2 separate regions of the Homo sapiens genome follow, and region 2 is linked to region 1. Evidence: promoter capture Hi-C in 16 types of primary human blood cells and fetal thymus (Javierre and others, 2016). All regions are on one chromosome and are shown on one strand. The core of a region is centred on a gene start or on the middle of the fragment in contact, and the rest is flanking DNA. Distances in the headings are between cores, read along the strand shown. Region 1 overlaps SUGP2 (SURP and G-patch domain containing 2). Region 2 holds the start of CERS1 (ceramide synthase 1).

Region 1 (7,620 bases), core at 3,165-5,664:
TGCACAGTTACTGCTGGAACATGTGCACCATGGAACCGTAAGGTGCCCCCCGAGGAGGCTCCTCACCCCTAGCACTTCCCGCTCTGGGGCCTGCAGTCCACCTACATGGGCGTGGAGATGAGGCCTCTCTGTGCCTCAGGGGTCTGGTGGCCACCTCGACTTGTAACCACAGCTATGAAGCTGTGGCTGGTATGAGAAACTTGAAACACTCCCGAAAGCACCAAAGTCCACTTGGACCAAAGGAAAAATGGCCCTCGTAAGGCAACTCAACCTCATAAATGTGCCAAGTCCCCCCAGTTAGCATATTAATATATCCCAATAAAATCCCATTCTGAATCAGGGCAAGATGGTTCTAAAGTTCATAAAGAAAAATAATATGTAAGAGTATCTGGGAAAACTCTGAACAAGACTCATAAGGGGTTCCAGCCCCACCAAGCACTATAAAATGCCCCAAAGCCTCTAGAGTTAAACAGCATAGTAGTCCATAAGGCAGACCAAAGGAACAGAATAGAAAGACCAGAAACCCAGCATTTGATTAAGGTAACCTCTCAAACTACTACAAAAAAGGGGTGGGTCTTTCAAAGAATGGTATTGGAAAAGCTGGACGGCTTTATAATTATTATTACACATTTTTAGAGATGGGGTCTCACTCTGTCGTCCAGGCTAGAGTGCAGTGGTGTGATCACAGCTCACTGCAGCCTCAAACTCCTGGGCTCAAGAAATCTTCCTACATCAGCCACCCAAGTAGTTAGGACCACAGGCAAATGCCACTATACCAGGCTAACAAACACACACACACACACACACACACACACACACACACACACACACACACCACACACACACACCACACACACATACAACTAAATATCAGCAGAAACAAATGAATCTGGGCCGGGCATGGTGGCTCATGCCTCCCAGCACATTTTGGGAGGCTGAGGCAGGCAGATCACCTGAGGTCAGGAATCCAAGACTAGCCTGGCCAACATGGTGAAACCCCGTCTCTACTAAAAATACAAAAATTAGCTGGGTGACACCTGTAATCCCAGCTACTTGGGAATCTGAGGCAGGAGAATCGCTTGAACCCGAGAGGCGGAGGTTGCAGTGAGCTGAGATCACACCACTGCACTCCAGCTTGGGCGACAGAGTGAAATTCCGTCTCAAAAATAAATAAATAAATAAAACGGATTGTATGACAACTTTATAACATAACCACACCCACAAAATGAATTAACTCAATAAGCTTGAGCACATTAGAATTAAATTTTTTCTAAAGGCAAAAGAAACACAAAGTCATCTTGGCCCATTTACAAGCATGGCTGGATAGCGTCCAACACCTTGCCCAGTATTGTGGTCAGGATCCAGGGCTCTCCTTCCAGGGAAGGACAGGACAGAGTACTCTGAAGGACACTGCTCAGAAAAGGCTGTCACAGATGGGGAGGAATCACCCAAAACCCAACAAGTACTACAGCCCAAGTACCCAGGCTAATGCAAAATTCTCCTTTAAACTGTACTTTTCATTGAAAAAAAAGAAAGTGAAAAAGAAAAAAGGACTCATGGGATGCCCCCAGCTGCCCTGCACTGAGCTGTCCTCCTTATCCAACCCTGCCAGAGGAAATCCCACATACACAGTGGACAGGTCCGACCCCGAGGTCTACAGGGCCCAGCAGCTCCCCAAGGCCACTACTGCCTGTAAAAGGCAAAACCTGACTGTAAGCCTGGTCAGGCTTCCCGTCTGTAGGTGGTCAGTGCCCCACAAGGCAGGTGGTACCTTAGTGCAGGACCCAGTCATAAGCCAAGGCTGCGGAGGGGAGTAGGGCTTGGCTTGTGCAATCAGGTCCCAAGCAAGTTGAAAGAGTATGTTCTGTCACCACTGAATCCCATAAATGCTCTGAGAAATGCACGTTTTCAACTGTAATTTTAACTGGATGAAGGCATGACTGTCCAACAAGCTAGGACCAGCACGAGGAGTTGAGAGCCCCCTCAGTAGGGTTCTGGCTCAGTAATGGGAAGATGGGTGCCTCCTACCGGCAGCCTTTCTCTGGAGGGGACATCTCATGTCACCCCGGGGAAAAACCCCAGGGGCAGTGCTGGCTCCTCACCCAGGTTTTCTTGCCTATGGGCTGTGTGCTTTTGAGCTGAGCTCCACCTATCCAAGGAATGGAGAGGGCAAAGGTACCTGCTCCCAGCATGAGCACGCCACCTTATCCCTGTGTAGAAGTGCCTGCTGTCAGACCTGGGCAAGGGCTGACTATCACTACTATCATGCAGTGAGCAGCAAATCCTCACCTCTCTCCCCTCCCCTGGCCAACTCCTATTTAGCCTTTGGATGCAGATTAAATGTCCCTCTGGGGAGGTTTTTCCTGATGCCCGAGATGAAGGCAGGTCCCCTAGAACAGATTTTTTTTTTTTGAGATGGAGTTTCACTCTTGTTGCCCAGGCTGGAGTGCAATGGCGCGATCTCGGCTCACTGCAACCTCCGCCTCCCAGGTTCAAGCAATTCTCCTGCCTCAGCCTCCCCCGAGTAGCTGGGATTACAGGCACCTGCCACTACACCCGGCTAATTTTTTTTATTTTTAGTATAGAGACGGGGTTTCACTATGTTGGCAAGGCTGGTCTCAAATGCCTGACCTCATGATCCACCCGCCTCAGCCTCCCAAAGTGCGGGGATTACAAGCATGAGCCATTGCACCTAGCCTTTTTTTTTTTTTTTTTTTTTGGAGATGAAGTCTCGCTCTGTTGCCCAGGCTGGAATGCAGTGGCTCAATCTCAGCTCACTGAAACCTCCGCCTCCCGGGTTTAAGCGATTCTCATGCCTCAGCCTCCCAAGCAGCTGGGATTACAGGTGCTTGCCACCATGCCCGGCTAATTTTTGTATTTTTGTAGAGATGGGGTTTTAGCATGGTGGCCAGGCTGGTCTCGAACTCCTGAACTCGGGTGATTAGAACAGATCTTTCTCCCTTAGGCCCCTGGCTCAGCTGAAGTGAAGTCATGACTTACTCCTGGTATAACCCCCATAGTAGGAATGCATTGGCCAGGCTGTGGGCTGGCTCAGGACATGCTTGTGGCGTGAACACACTCAAATCTAAAGGGTGTAATGGCCAGTTGCAGTGGAGCACACCTGTGGTCCCAGCTACTCTGGAGGCTGAAACAGGAGGATCACTTGAGCCCAGGAATTCAAATCCAGCCTAAGCAACATCCTTAGACTTTGTCTCTCTGAGAAAGAAAAAGGTGTGATGAGACCCGGGGGGGTACGTACCACAGGTCAGGGTTATCGGTGCTGTTTTCTATGCTGAATTGTTCGATCTCTGGTCCCACCTGAGCAACAAATCTAGCCAGTTTCTCTGCAGTCTCCATTGTCTTCATGTCAACTACAAAACATAAAGCACCTGTCAGGCATGACTCCTGAGCTGCTGCTCCCCGTGTAAACACTGCAGGGTTGTGGAGGCTGATTATAAAGATGGCCTGCATGTCCCCTCCCTGTAGCCTTGCCCTTCGTCACATGTGGACCCTTTGTCACCAAGAAGTGAACTCTGTGTATCCCCACCTTGAATCAGGGCTGGTCCTGGGACTCACATCAGCTATAGAATGTGGTGGAAAAGCCCATTGCCAGTTCCAAGCCTGGGCCTTGGAGGACTTGAGTACTTCCACTGTCTCTCCTGAAGCCCCAACCCCAATTGCCAGGTGAACAAACATGGGCTGGCTGCTGGGGGGATGACAGGCATGTGGCCCAGCCACACCATCATCTCAGCTGACAGCCTGGACACCTGCCACTGACCGCAGACATGTGTGGGCTAGCTCAGCAGATGACCCAGCCACTGGCAAATTCACAATACCGGACGCCTCCTGGTTGGTTTGTTTGGTTTTTTTTTGAGATGGAGTCTTGCTCTGTCGCCCAGGCTGGAGTGCAGTGGTGAGATCTTGGCTCAATGCAACCTCCGCCTCCCGGGTTCAAGCGATTCTCCTAGCTCAGCCTCCCGAGTAGCTGGGACTACAGGCATGTGCCACCACGCCCAGCTAATTTTTTGTATTTTTAGTAGAGATCGGGTTTCACCATGTTGCCCAGGCTGGTTGCGAACTCCTGAGCTCAGGCAATCCACCCGCCTTGGCCTCCCAAAGTGCTGGGATTACAAGTGTGAGCCACCACGCCCAGCTGATGCCTCCTGTTTTAAGCCACAGTTTGGAACGGCTCACGACACAGCAACACCTAAATAATGCAGCAGTTGTGGACACTTTTTTGCTCTCTCCTTCCCACTTAGTGCTTAGGAAGCACTGGCCAGAGAGCAGGCCTGTGGTACAGAGAGAAAGAAACAGCTAAGGTGACAGAAGAAACAGAAGGGGTGAAGTTAGTCGATTCGGAGGAAGCAGTGCAGGTCAGCGAACCCCAAGAACAGGAACTGTGGAGACCCTGGGGATGAGGAGGCGCAATGAGAACAAGGCAGTCCCGAAGACTATCAAGGGAGGCCAGGATATAGCAGGACATGGGATCCCAAGTTCAGGCAATGCACCGCCCACGGCCCCAGCAGCAGGACCCTGTCGGGGAGCACGAAGGCATGGGGCAGCACCTCATACCAGCTCCGCTCTCAGAAGAGGAGGAGGGAGCTGCAGGACTCGCATGCAGCTCTCTCAAGAAAGCAAGAGAGAAAGCGCCAACATGTACACTTGTCCTGGCCAGGTCCCTAGAGCTTTTATCCACTGCCTTGCCTAGATTGCAGGCCCCCCCAATTCTAAAGAGACCCTGGAGATGGGAGAGTAGGGACTGGGGCCCAGAGGAGGGGGACAGGAGTGAGCACCCACTGTCAGCAGATGGGCAGGGAGAAGAGGTCTGAGGTGCTTCAGAGATGTCCACTCCTGCTGGCTTGGGGGATGGGCCTGAGGCTTCTAAGCTGGGGTCCTGAGGAGAAGGTCCAACTGGGTCTGGCGGGCAGTCCTTGGCAGCATCATTTCTGTCTGGCAGGGATGGTTTTGCCTGTGAGAGGCCTGGAGCCTGCCGGCCGTGGTGTTTCAGCCTGGTGCCTGAGGATAGGAGGGTCTGGGTCCCGGTGGTCGCTCTCCTCGCCTTCCAGCCCCGGAGCCCTTGAGCACGGAGGAGCCCCCGCCGCTGCCACGGAAGGAGTTTCTTCTTGAGGTTGCGGACAGCCCGGGAGTACAGCATGGCCCTCACTGCACAGTCTGCTGAGGTCGGCTTCTGGTCGGCTCCTCGCAAGTTCTCGCTCATCCGCTGCATTTCTGCCAACTTCAGCTTGTAATATTTATACTCCAGACTATTTTCATCAGACAAAAACCTAGATAACAAAACAAGCATAACGGGACATTTATGAAAACACCACCAGGTCCCAAATTGTTCCTTCAAACACAAACCCTTTCTAAGTGGCCAACTCCTCACTGTCCTCTCCTGTCTCAGAGGCTCTGCCTGGCTCTACTGAGGACCCAGAGCTAGGCCCAAGACAGCTGCCCTGCTAAGAGTGACCACAGGGCAATCGGGAGTTTGAACTGAGTTCCTCCTTGATTTCCATCAGCAGCAGCCGTGAGGGAGCTCCCAGCTCTTGATGGCCTGGAAACACAAACCAGTCACCTTGGAGCCATAGCACCCTGGCAGGCAGAATTGACACCTTTTAAATGGCCCAGCCAGGATGAGTGCTCGGTGAGCTTTTGACTGCATCAAGGAAAGTGTGATGTGAACCACAAGAGAACATTAACCAAGGAGCCTGCGGCCCAGGTGTGAAATCTTATGACCCAGTCATCATGATGAGAACAGTAAAGAGAAGGTTGAGCTACATGTACTAACAGAAAAATATTCAGCTGGGCGTGGTGGCTCACACCTGTAATCCCAGCACTTTGAGAGGCTGAGGCGGGAGGATTGCTTGAGCCCAGGAGTTCAAGACCAGCCTGGGCAACAAAACAAGATCCCATTTCCACAAAATAAAAAAATTAGCCAGGGTGGTGGTGCATGCCTATAGTCCCAGCTACTCTGGAGGCTAAGGTGGGAGGATCACTTGAGCCCAGGAAGTCGAGAGGCTGTGGTGAGCTGTGATTGCACCACTGCACTCCAGTCTGGGCAACAGAGCAAGACCCTATCTTTAAAAAAAAAAAAAACCTTCTCCTTCTAGTGTCTTTACTTTTTTCATCATTTTCCTTCTAGCTTCATGAGTTGATTACAGCTCACCGCAGCCTCGACCTTCTGGGTTCAGGTGATCCTCCCACCTCAGCCTCCCCAGTAGCTGGGACTACAGGCGCGCACCACCACGCCTGGCTAATTTTTGTGTTTTTGGTTGAGAGGACATTTCACCATGTTGCCTAGGCTGATCTCAAACTCTTGGGCTCAAGGTAGCCATACGCCTCAGCCTCTCAAAGTGCTGGGATTACAGGTGTGAGCCACTGCACCTGGCCCACTATTTCTAATAAAGTCACCTGAAGTCACTCTTTCTCTTAAGTATTTTTATGACTGCATCTGGTATATAATGTTCTTCTTGCCACTTCCTTCTAAATTGCTTCTAATTTCAGCTATGATTACCCTTCACTCAAAAGTTATTCAGAAACATGTTTTATTTTGGTTGTTGCTGGTTTCTAGTTTGCTGTATTGGCATAATGTGGCCCACGTGAATTTCCTGGGTGTGCTGTGATTTTCTCTGTGATTTCATACATAACGAACTTTTAAGATGGGCGTGGTGGCTCACGCCTGTAATCCCAGCACTTTGGGAGGCGGAAGCAGGTGGGTCGCTTGAGCCCAGGAGTTCAAGACCAGTCTGGGCAACATGGCGAAACCCCATCTCTTTAAAAATAAATAAATAAATAACCACCCCACAACAAACATAACAGACTTTTGTGAATATTTGATTTCAGTTTGTGTTAAAGAAGAATATTGCTTAGTAAGTATGGCAGTATTTCAGGTGGCTTTCAGATTGTTTGATATTAAGTAGCGACATATCAGTTATTAGATGAGGTTCCAGATTACCAGTGACAAGCCAACTAGAAGTAAGGTGGCTGTGTGTTGCACAGCATTGGCAGCACTGTGTGATGTGGCATGTCCCTGGCAGGCAGCTCCATACACAAGCTCCTGCTGACACTGTTAGCCAGTTGAGGTCTGTCTGGACCTGACAAAACGACTGAGTACCGGCTCCACTGCTGCCCTGGCACTCTGTTGGGCTAACGGTGGCATCCTGCAAGATCATGCCCTAATAAGCAATAGCGCTCAATTAAGAGAATGCTGACCAACATGGGCACTCTGGTTCTCAAGTCAAACACAGCCCCAGCAAGGCAACTCCTCATCAAGGGCAGAGCGCAGAATCAGGGCCAGGTGACCTGACTGCCCCAGTCACTCATGGCTCTGATGGCTTTCCTTGTTCCTGGATGGTTCTGATGCCAAGTGCAGTCCGAGGATGTCAGTCCCAAATGCATCTCCCAAGTTCCAGTGGAACATAACATCAAGAACAGAGAACACTCAACAAGCCAGTCTGCTGGCTTCAAATCTCAGCATAGCCACTTATTAGCTGGGAACCTTTCTGTGCCTCAGTTTCTCCATCTGTAAGACAGGGAAGATGATAAGCAGTAGCTACTTCATCATACAGCTGTGAGGCCTGCGTTATAAGCTTTTCACTAGGAGGCAAGTGCTATGAAAAC
Region 2 (7,620 bases), core at 2,114-4,613, 110 kb before region 1:
CTCCAACACGGCCAGATACCCCCTTTCCTGTCCCCAGGGATCACCTTTGTCTTGGGGCTGGCTTAACTTCTGAGACACCCATAGGAGCTCTGATTCTGATAAGCATCCCCTTACACTGTTCTTTTTTTCTTTTCTTTTTTAATACAGAGTCTCGCTCTGTTGCCCAGGCTGGAGTGCAGTGGCGCGAACTCGGCTCACTGCAACCTCTGCCTCCCAGGTTCAAGCGATTCTCCTGCCTCAGCCTCCCGAGTAGCTGGGATTACAGGCGCCCACCACACCCGGCTAATTTTTTGTATTTTTAGTAGAGACGGGGTTTCACCATGTTAGCCAGGATGGTCTCGATCTCCTAACCTCGTGATCCACTCACCTTGGCCTCCCAAAGTGCTGGGATTACAGGCGTGAGCCACTGCGCCTGGCCCTCTTTTTCTTTTTTGATACAAGACAGGGTCTCACTCTGTCGTCCAGGCTGGAGTGCAGTGGCGTGCTCATAGCTCCCCTTGGCCTCCAACTCCTGGGCTCCAGTGATCCTCCTGCTTCTGCCTCATGAGTAGCTGGGACCACAAGCCTGGCGTCTTTGTGTTTTAAGCAGAGCCCTCCCGGCCATCCCCTCAGGGCCCCTACCGTAGAAGACAGATGGTGGGTCATGGAAGAAGGGGTAGTCGGTGCCAAACAGCAGGTAGGCACTGTAGCTCCAGCTGCCCAGGTAGAAGAGAAACTTCCAAGCGCTCTCGGGCATCTTGGCGGCATCTCTGGGCTGGAGGCAGCACCGCTTCGCCAGGGGCTATGGGGGAGAAGACAGGCGGGCAGCCATTGGTGCTGGGGGCCAGAGACTGCTCCTTTGGGGTGGGGAAACTGAGGCCCAGGGACTCCCCAGGCCGGGCAGCACTGGGAAGGCCTGTCCCCCATGCCCACAGCCACCTGGAGCATAAACAGAGCCCACAGGCGCCTGCCAAGGCTAAACTTAGTGCCCAGCTGTCCGGCCGCCGCGGTGCTGGGAGGGGAGTGAGGGGGGAGGCCCCGAGGGGAGCAGGAGGGCTCTGGGGGCCAGAAGGGGGACACTTGGGCTTACGATGAGGGAGACGGATGGATGCGTCAGCCCAAGGGAGTTGGGCTGGTGGGGGTGACCCTTGAAGGGAACATGGAGGGGGTTATATGGGGGCATCTTGGGAAACACAGAGAGCCCCATGGGACCGACACAGAGGGGAGAGGAAGAACTTGTGAGGAAGCCGCCCCCTCAGTGGGAGATTCTGGAGAGGCTAGAGGGCTGGGAGAGACTAGGGGGAAGGTGTGGCGGGGACATGGGAACCTGGGGGCGATGAAAGGGGAGGAGGGGCTGGAGGCAGAAAAAGGGGACAGGAGGCGGAAAAGGTGTCACAGGCGAGGTGAGACCCTGAGGGGACATTGGGAGTGCAGAGGAAGCTGCTGGCTCCAAGGCAGGGGTTGGGGAGTGCGGTGGGTGGGTGGGTGGCGGGGCGCGGCTCCAGAGCTGCCCGGCCAAGCCCCACCCCTGGACAAGTCCCACCCCCTTCCCAGAGGCTGAGGGGGCCGGAGCCCAGAGCACCCAGCAGTTGTCATGGAGACAGCTGGAGCCGGCTCCGGTAACCCCTGGCAACCAGGCTGCTGCCAAGAAGATCAGCTTTGGAACACCCGGCAGCCCCTCCACCCATTTCTGAGGAAGGGCGAGCCTCGAAATGGGGCGAGCACCCCACCCAAGGGGCTGGGGAGGGCCCCCGGGGCTCGGCCCTGGTAGTCTACCAGCCGCCACATCCTCCTGTCCCGCAGGGGTGGGGGACGGCTTGCCCTCCTGGGTCTCGGGCTTCCCAGCTGGAAACTGGGAAGAAGGCAGGGGCAACAAGCAGGATAAAGACCACTGCGGACCCAGGGAGGGGCCCTGGACAGCCCTGTCTCCCCCTCCCACAGTAGGGGTGTGGCTGGGGTCTCTCCCTCATGTGGGTGATATGGGGACGGGAGTGGGGAGAGTGGCAGTCAGACAACATCCCATCATCGACCTCACAAGGGCCAGCCTCTTCCCGGCCAGCAGAGAAAGGCCCCTTTGTTGGCGCTGGGCACATTGTCCCTGCACCCTCCAGCCAGACGGGCGGGGTGACACCAGCTGGTCCACGGGGGTGTCCAGGCCAAGCTAAAGGCCCAAACACCTTCCAACCAGCTCCTGCCACAGCGACCCCTCCCCAGGGAAGTGAGTGGGGTCAGGCGCCAATGTCACCATCATGGTCACTCTCTCGCAGGGGCGATGGTCTCCGCAGAAACTGGGGAATTCTGCTGTCGCCTCTTGGAGGCAGCACAGTCCAACCCTGAAGCCCCGGGCCATGTCACCTCCAAGGGAGCGACCACTGGCGTGGCCAGAGCACCCAGGCCCTTGCCATCCCTGGTCGGAGGGTGGCGCTGACCCCAGATAGGCACAAGGCAGCGACCGGGCAGCTCCTGCCTCTTCCCGATTACAGCGGGCAAGCCGGCCCCGCCGCCGCACGGACCCAGCAGAAAACGGGCAGCGGACCTCGCTCCGGGCCGGGGCGCAGCCCGCATGGCAGGGAGGCGCATGGCGCAGGCCGCGGTGCGCCGAGCCCTCCCGTTCCCGGTCCTGGGCTTCTCAGTGTCTGGCTCGGCCCTGCCGGAAAGAGCGCGCGGTGGCCGGAGCCATCCACCGCGCGGGGCCCCCTGGTCCCAAACTGACCGGAAAGGGCCGTGCCTCGGTCCCCCACGTCTCAAACATCCCACCTGTCTCGGGCCCCCCATGTCCCAGACTCACCCCAGCCCGGCCACACCCCCGCATCTACCCGGTTCCCCCACGCAGCACTGTCTGAAGGGGGCGCGCGGCGGCCCGAGAGACCTTATCCTGGGGCTCCAACGTCCTGGGCCTCTCCAGCCCGAGGCCCCCACCCACGTTCCGGCGACCCCTTCATCCGCAGCAGCCAGCGCTGGAAGAAAGGAACGCGCCGGCGGCCCCAGGTCCCCGGTCCCGGCTTCCCCCAGTCCGGGGTCCCCTCGTCCCGGCCCCCGGCCACACTGACCCGAAAGAGGCGCGCAGTGGCCGCGGAGCGCAGGGCGGTCCAGCCCAGCGCGCCGAGCGCCAGCAGCAGCAGCTCGGGCGGCGCCAGGTGCGCGTGCTCAGCCAGGCCGCGACGCGCCAGCCCCCAGCCGCAGTCCGTGCAGCCCCGCGCCGCCGCCAGCGCGCTGCCCCAGCCGCGCTGCACTAGCTGCGCGTAGCTCGGCATGGGCTCGGGCCCCGTCGGCCCCGCCGCGGGCCCCGCCGCCGCCATACCGCCCGCTCGCCCGCCGTGCCCGTCGCCTGCGCCCGCCCGCGGTAGCCGACGGAGCCGCGCGCCCCGCGTCACGCGCCGCAGCTGGGCCGGGGGCGCGCGGGCGGGAGAGCGGAGGGCGGAGGGGCGGGACCGGCGCAAGCTCCGCCCCGCTGGGGGCGCGGCTGGGGGGCGGCCAGCGGGGACGCGGGGCGCCCTGGAGGCGGGCCCGCGCCCCTGCCCGTTTCCCAGCAGAGAAACCCAGGCGCGGGGGCCGGAGCTGGGGGCCCGTTGGACCTGGACCCCGAGAGACCCCGCGCACCGCCGTGTCGCGCCCCCATGCCTGCCCCGCGCGCCCCCCGCTCCCCCACCCCACCGCGCCGTGCCCGTGACGGGGGGCACGGGGGACACTAGCAGGCAGTCCCCTCGACTGGCGACCCCCGCTTCTCCCGGCCCTCCAGCACGCCACGCCGCTCCCGCTCCATCGCCCCGGCCCGCTCCGACCTCACCGTTCTTGGAGCCCTCGCTCCTTCTCAAGGACCCGAGGCCTGGCACGCCTTGGCACAGTCTTGGGACCATCCCGTGGCCCTCCCGCATTCAGGAGGCGTAGGCTCAATGAAACATTCTCATTCTTCAAAAGGACACGGCCCACGCCAGGGCGTTGGGAGGCGCACCTAGTGGAGACGCAGCTCTCTGCCCTACACCAGGAGCTTGGCAATGGGGTTCCAGCTTGGACGCGGGTACCCTGGGCACTTCCCAGGCATCTTCTTCTGCAGGTCTGCACAGCGGGCTACTGGGACAAAGGTGTGATGGGGGCTGCTGAGATTAGGGGGTTCTCTGAGGGTCACTTGCTGCTGTGACCCTGGGGAACCCGGGGGGGGGGCTCCCCAACATCAGGTTAATACATGAGTTGCAGAGAGGCTGCAGGAGTGGGTGCCAACGTGGGAGGGACTCCCAATCTGGATCGACTGTGACATCATTGGGACCACCATAAGTGACTTTCCAATGCACTGTTCATTGACAAGGCCCTGTGCCCAAAGCCACTGAAGGCCATCGAGGAAGACACTGGTCACCTCTGTTAGGACCGCCATCTCCCCAGGCACTGCTGCACCCCCCCTCCATCCTAGCCCGCAGGATGTCCCCACACCTGGCCTTCAAGGTGCAGGATGCAGGGATGAGTCCTGCAGCAGCCGCGCTGGCTCCCGAACACCTGCACCTGAACTTCAGGGGCACAGGTGAACACACCTTCCCCTTGCCCCACACCGAGTCCCCCACAACACATCCAGGTGGCCCTGCATCTGGCCACTTCTCTGCATCTGCACAGCCTTGCCCCCCGCTCCCCGCCACCACCACCACTACCACCACTACCCTCTTCCGTCTGGTATCCTGGCTTCCTCCTCACCCCACAGAGGTGAGAAGGTGGCTGCGACGCTGTTGGCCTGTTCCTCGTCTGCTTGCAGCCCTCTATGGCTCCTGTTCCACTCAGGGAAAGCCCAAGTCCTCACTGGCTGCCCTCACAGCGCCCTGTTTCCCTCCGCCTGTGGGCTTTTCTGCTGTTCTTCCAACATGCCAAGCTCTGTCCTGCCTCAGGGCCTTTGCACTAGCTGTTCCCCCCTCCTGAAATGCTGTTCCCCTAGGTACCTGCATGGCTCTTCTGCCACCTGCTCAGGCTGCCCCCGACTCTGAAGTCACACGCCCCTCATGTCTTCATGTCTGCTTGGCACTTGTCACCATCTGCCCCTACATACATACAGCTCATTTTTTTTTTTGAGTTGGAGTCTTGCTCCGTTGCCCAGACTGGAGTGCAGTGGCGCAATCTCAGCTGACCGCAACCTCCGCCTCCCAGGTTCAAGGGATTCTCCTGCCTCAGTCTCCCGAGTAGCTGGGATTACAGGCGCCTGCTATCACACCCAGCTAATCTTTGTATTTTCTGTAGAGACAGGGTTTTGCCATATTGGCCGGGCTGGTCTCGAACTCCTGACCTCAAGTGATCTGCCTGTCTTGGCCTCCCAAAGTGCTGGGATTACAGGCATGAGCCACCGTGCCTGGCCCCACTCTTTATTCTTGAACGTGGACTCCATGTGGACTAGGGGCCTAGTGTAGGGGTGGGGCACGAGGCTTGGCCTGGCCAATAGTTCAGGTCCAGCCGGAGGCCAGAGATGTGACTAACGCCACAACCTGCCTGGCAGGCAGAGGGGGACGAGGGGGATATGCTCTCAAAGGTCCAGCCAGGCCTGTGGGGCAGCCGTGGACAGTCCCAGCCACCTCCCTCCACCCTCTCGGCCAGCACTATCTGGTCACCATGGCGCCCATCGGTCACGGGAGAGGCGCCACCCACCCACCCACTAGCCCCAGCTCAGCCTCGAATTTCTTTTTGGCGGGTCCAGCCAGGAGGCTGCCAACGGGTGGGTGCAGGGCAGGAATGGAAGGCGGCTCTACTGGCAGCTGGGGACCAGGCACCCAAGGCTGGGCGGAGGTCAGTCTTGAGGCCAGTGTCCCCCCACCCACCCCAAGGTCTCCTCCCTCCAGAAAGCTCGGCCTGGACCCCTCCTAATGTCCCTGTCCAGGGAGTCCTCTTTTGCCACTTCCCTCCCCTACCAGGCTGGGGGTGGGGGTCGCTTGCTGTCCTGCCCTGGCAACCAGAGACGGGGTCTGGTTTCAAATGAATAGGCCTGGGTGTGGCTTGGGGAAACCCAGTCTTATCTTTTCCCTGGGAGATAAGCCCAGGCCAGGCTCAGAGGTCAAAGGGCATGCATCCCCATCCAGCGCCCCTTGACCTCACAGCCCTGTGCCACCGAGGGACCTCTGCACCGGTCATGCCCACTGCCAGGGTGCCTGTCCCCCTAGAACCTAGCCTGGCAGCTCCTTTTTGTTGTTCGGGTGGGCACAGCTCAATGGTGACATCTGGGAGGCTCCGGCCAGCCCTGCTGCCACCCACCCACCTCCCTCCCTAAATGGTGCGGCCGCCTCTCATCGCGGCTGGGTGCTTGGCCCCAGGACCCTGCCACAGCAGGACTCTGCCTTGGAGGAGGGTTTGCGGGGCGGCAGGAGCAGCACCTGGGGTTAACGCTGACCCTGCAGGGCCCCTCCGGCTTTGCTGAGCTGAGGCCTGAGTTTTTCCTGCCCTGGCCCCCACTTCCTCCAGGCCACTAGGGGTTCTCATTTTGAATCTTGGTGCCCCTCATGATAGCGGCATGACTTCTCTGTGCCTCAGTTTCCCCCGATGCCAACCAGGGCTGCTCAGTGGCCTCTAGGGGCCAGGGTGAAGCATGGGGACAGGGCTGTGCTGCCTCTGGCCTGCAGGAGCAGGTTGTGGCTGTGTGAGGGGCGGGGTGGGGGTCTGCACACCTGCTGCTCGTCACAGACCCTGGTCTCCAGGAACAGCCCTGGATGCCAGTGCCCCAGGACTCTCCCTGAGCGTCAGCTCCCACACGCCCCCAGCAAAGTGACCAGAGCACATCATCAGGTGGAACACCCTGGAGTTGAGATATTTATTAACAGATGGGGGTGCTGGGGGTGGGCTCCTGCCCCCAGAGGGGATGCAGGTGGATGCCGGGTGGGGAGGGCTGCAGGGCTGGCTCCTGGCCTCTGTCCTGGCTTCATGGTCCTGACAGCTCTGGGCCAGCCTCAGGCGCTGGGAGCGTACTGTAGCACCAGCCTGTCAAAGTCGTTCTCCTTTAGCAAGACACATGGCAACACAGGGTGGGGGCAGGGTGTGGGGAGACAGGTGGAGGGAGAGAGAGAGGGCGCATGTGAGCCCAGGCTGAGCTCCAGGCGCCCCCTGGCCTGGTTCTCGGGGACAGGCCATCCCCACCACTCACCTTGGCCTGGTACTCCTTGATGAAGGGATGGGACCTGTGGGCATCCTTCAGCTGGGACAGGTATCGGTTTGTCACCTGCAGGGGAGGCAGGGAGGCAGGTGAGCCGAACACGGGGACCCCACGGTGGCTCTGACCTGCTGGACAGGGGTGGATTGGGGTGAGAGCCACAGTACCCCAGGGGGCTCCTCACCCTGCCTTGGGACTGGGCTGATCTCGGAGAACCTTCAGGGTGGGGGTGGAGGGATGGGCCTGCCCCCTGGAGAGGCGCTGGCATGGAGCTGGCCTCCGTACATGGTGGGGGATGTATTGTGGTGTTCAGGGGAGCAGGTCGGGCAGGGCCCCAGGTGAGGATGGGTTGGGGGGCACAGGGTTTGTGAGGGAGGTGGGCTGCGGTAGGCATACTGTATACAGAGTTTTCCCAGGGGCCTAGGGATTAGGGCCTGGACCCCAGGCTGGGGTCCCAGGGTCTGGACATTAGGGTTGGCCTGGAGCCCTGGGGGCCGCTTACCTCAGGGGGCTTGCCCAGGTGCTGGGACAGGACG

What was found. Contacts are between HindIII fragments. The CHiCAGO score rates a contact against its expected background, and 5 or more counts as called.
Region 2: a contact is called between the fragment with the promoter of CERS1 here and a fragment that was not itself captured in region 1, in 1 of 17 cell types (monocytes). The highest score is 5.6, in monocytes.

What each region holds. Positions count from the first base shown.
Region 1 is chr19:19,005,058-19,012,677 of GRCh38, forward strand. It overlaps SUGP2 (SURP and G-patch domain containing 2), which reads right to left. Exons shown (of 11, transcript NM_001017392.5): 5 at 4,798-5,285; 6 at 3,260-3,371. Among named protein-coding and RNA genes, the nearest start is that of SUGP2, 25 kb to the right of the region's middle. The HindIII fragment of the contact is 6,346 bases long and covers 1,242-7,587 here.
Region 2 is chr19:18,892,795-18,900,414 of GRCh38, forward strand. It overlaps CERS1 (ceramide synthase 1), which reads right to left and starts at 3,364. Exons shown (of 8, transcript NM_021267.5): 1 at 3,030-3,364; 2 at 622-781. The coding sequence starts at 3,278. GDF1 (growth differentiation factor 1) reads right to left here and starts at 3,364. Exons shown (of 8, transcript NM_001492.6): 1 at 3,030-3,364; 2 at 622-781. It overlaps COPE (coat protein complex I subunit epsilon), which reads right to left. Exons shown (of 10, transcript NM_007263.4): 8 at 7,587-7,620; 9 at 7,079-7,153; 10 at 6,720-6,932. The coding sequence ends at 6,885. RefSeq lists a silencer at 2,365-2,414. The HindIII fragment of the contact is 17,655 bases long and covers 1-7,620 here.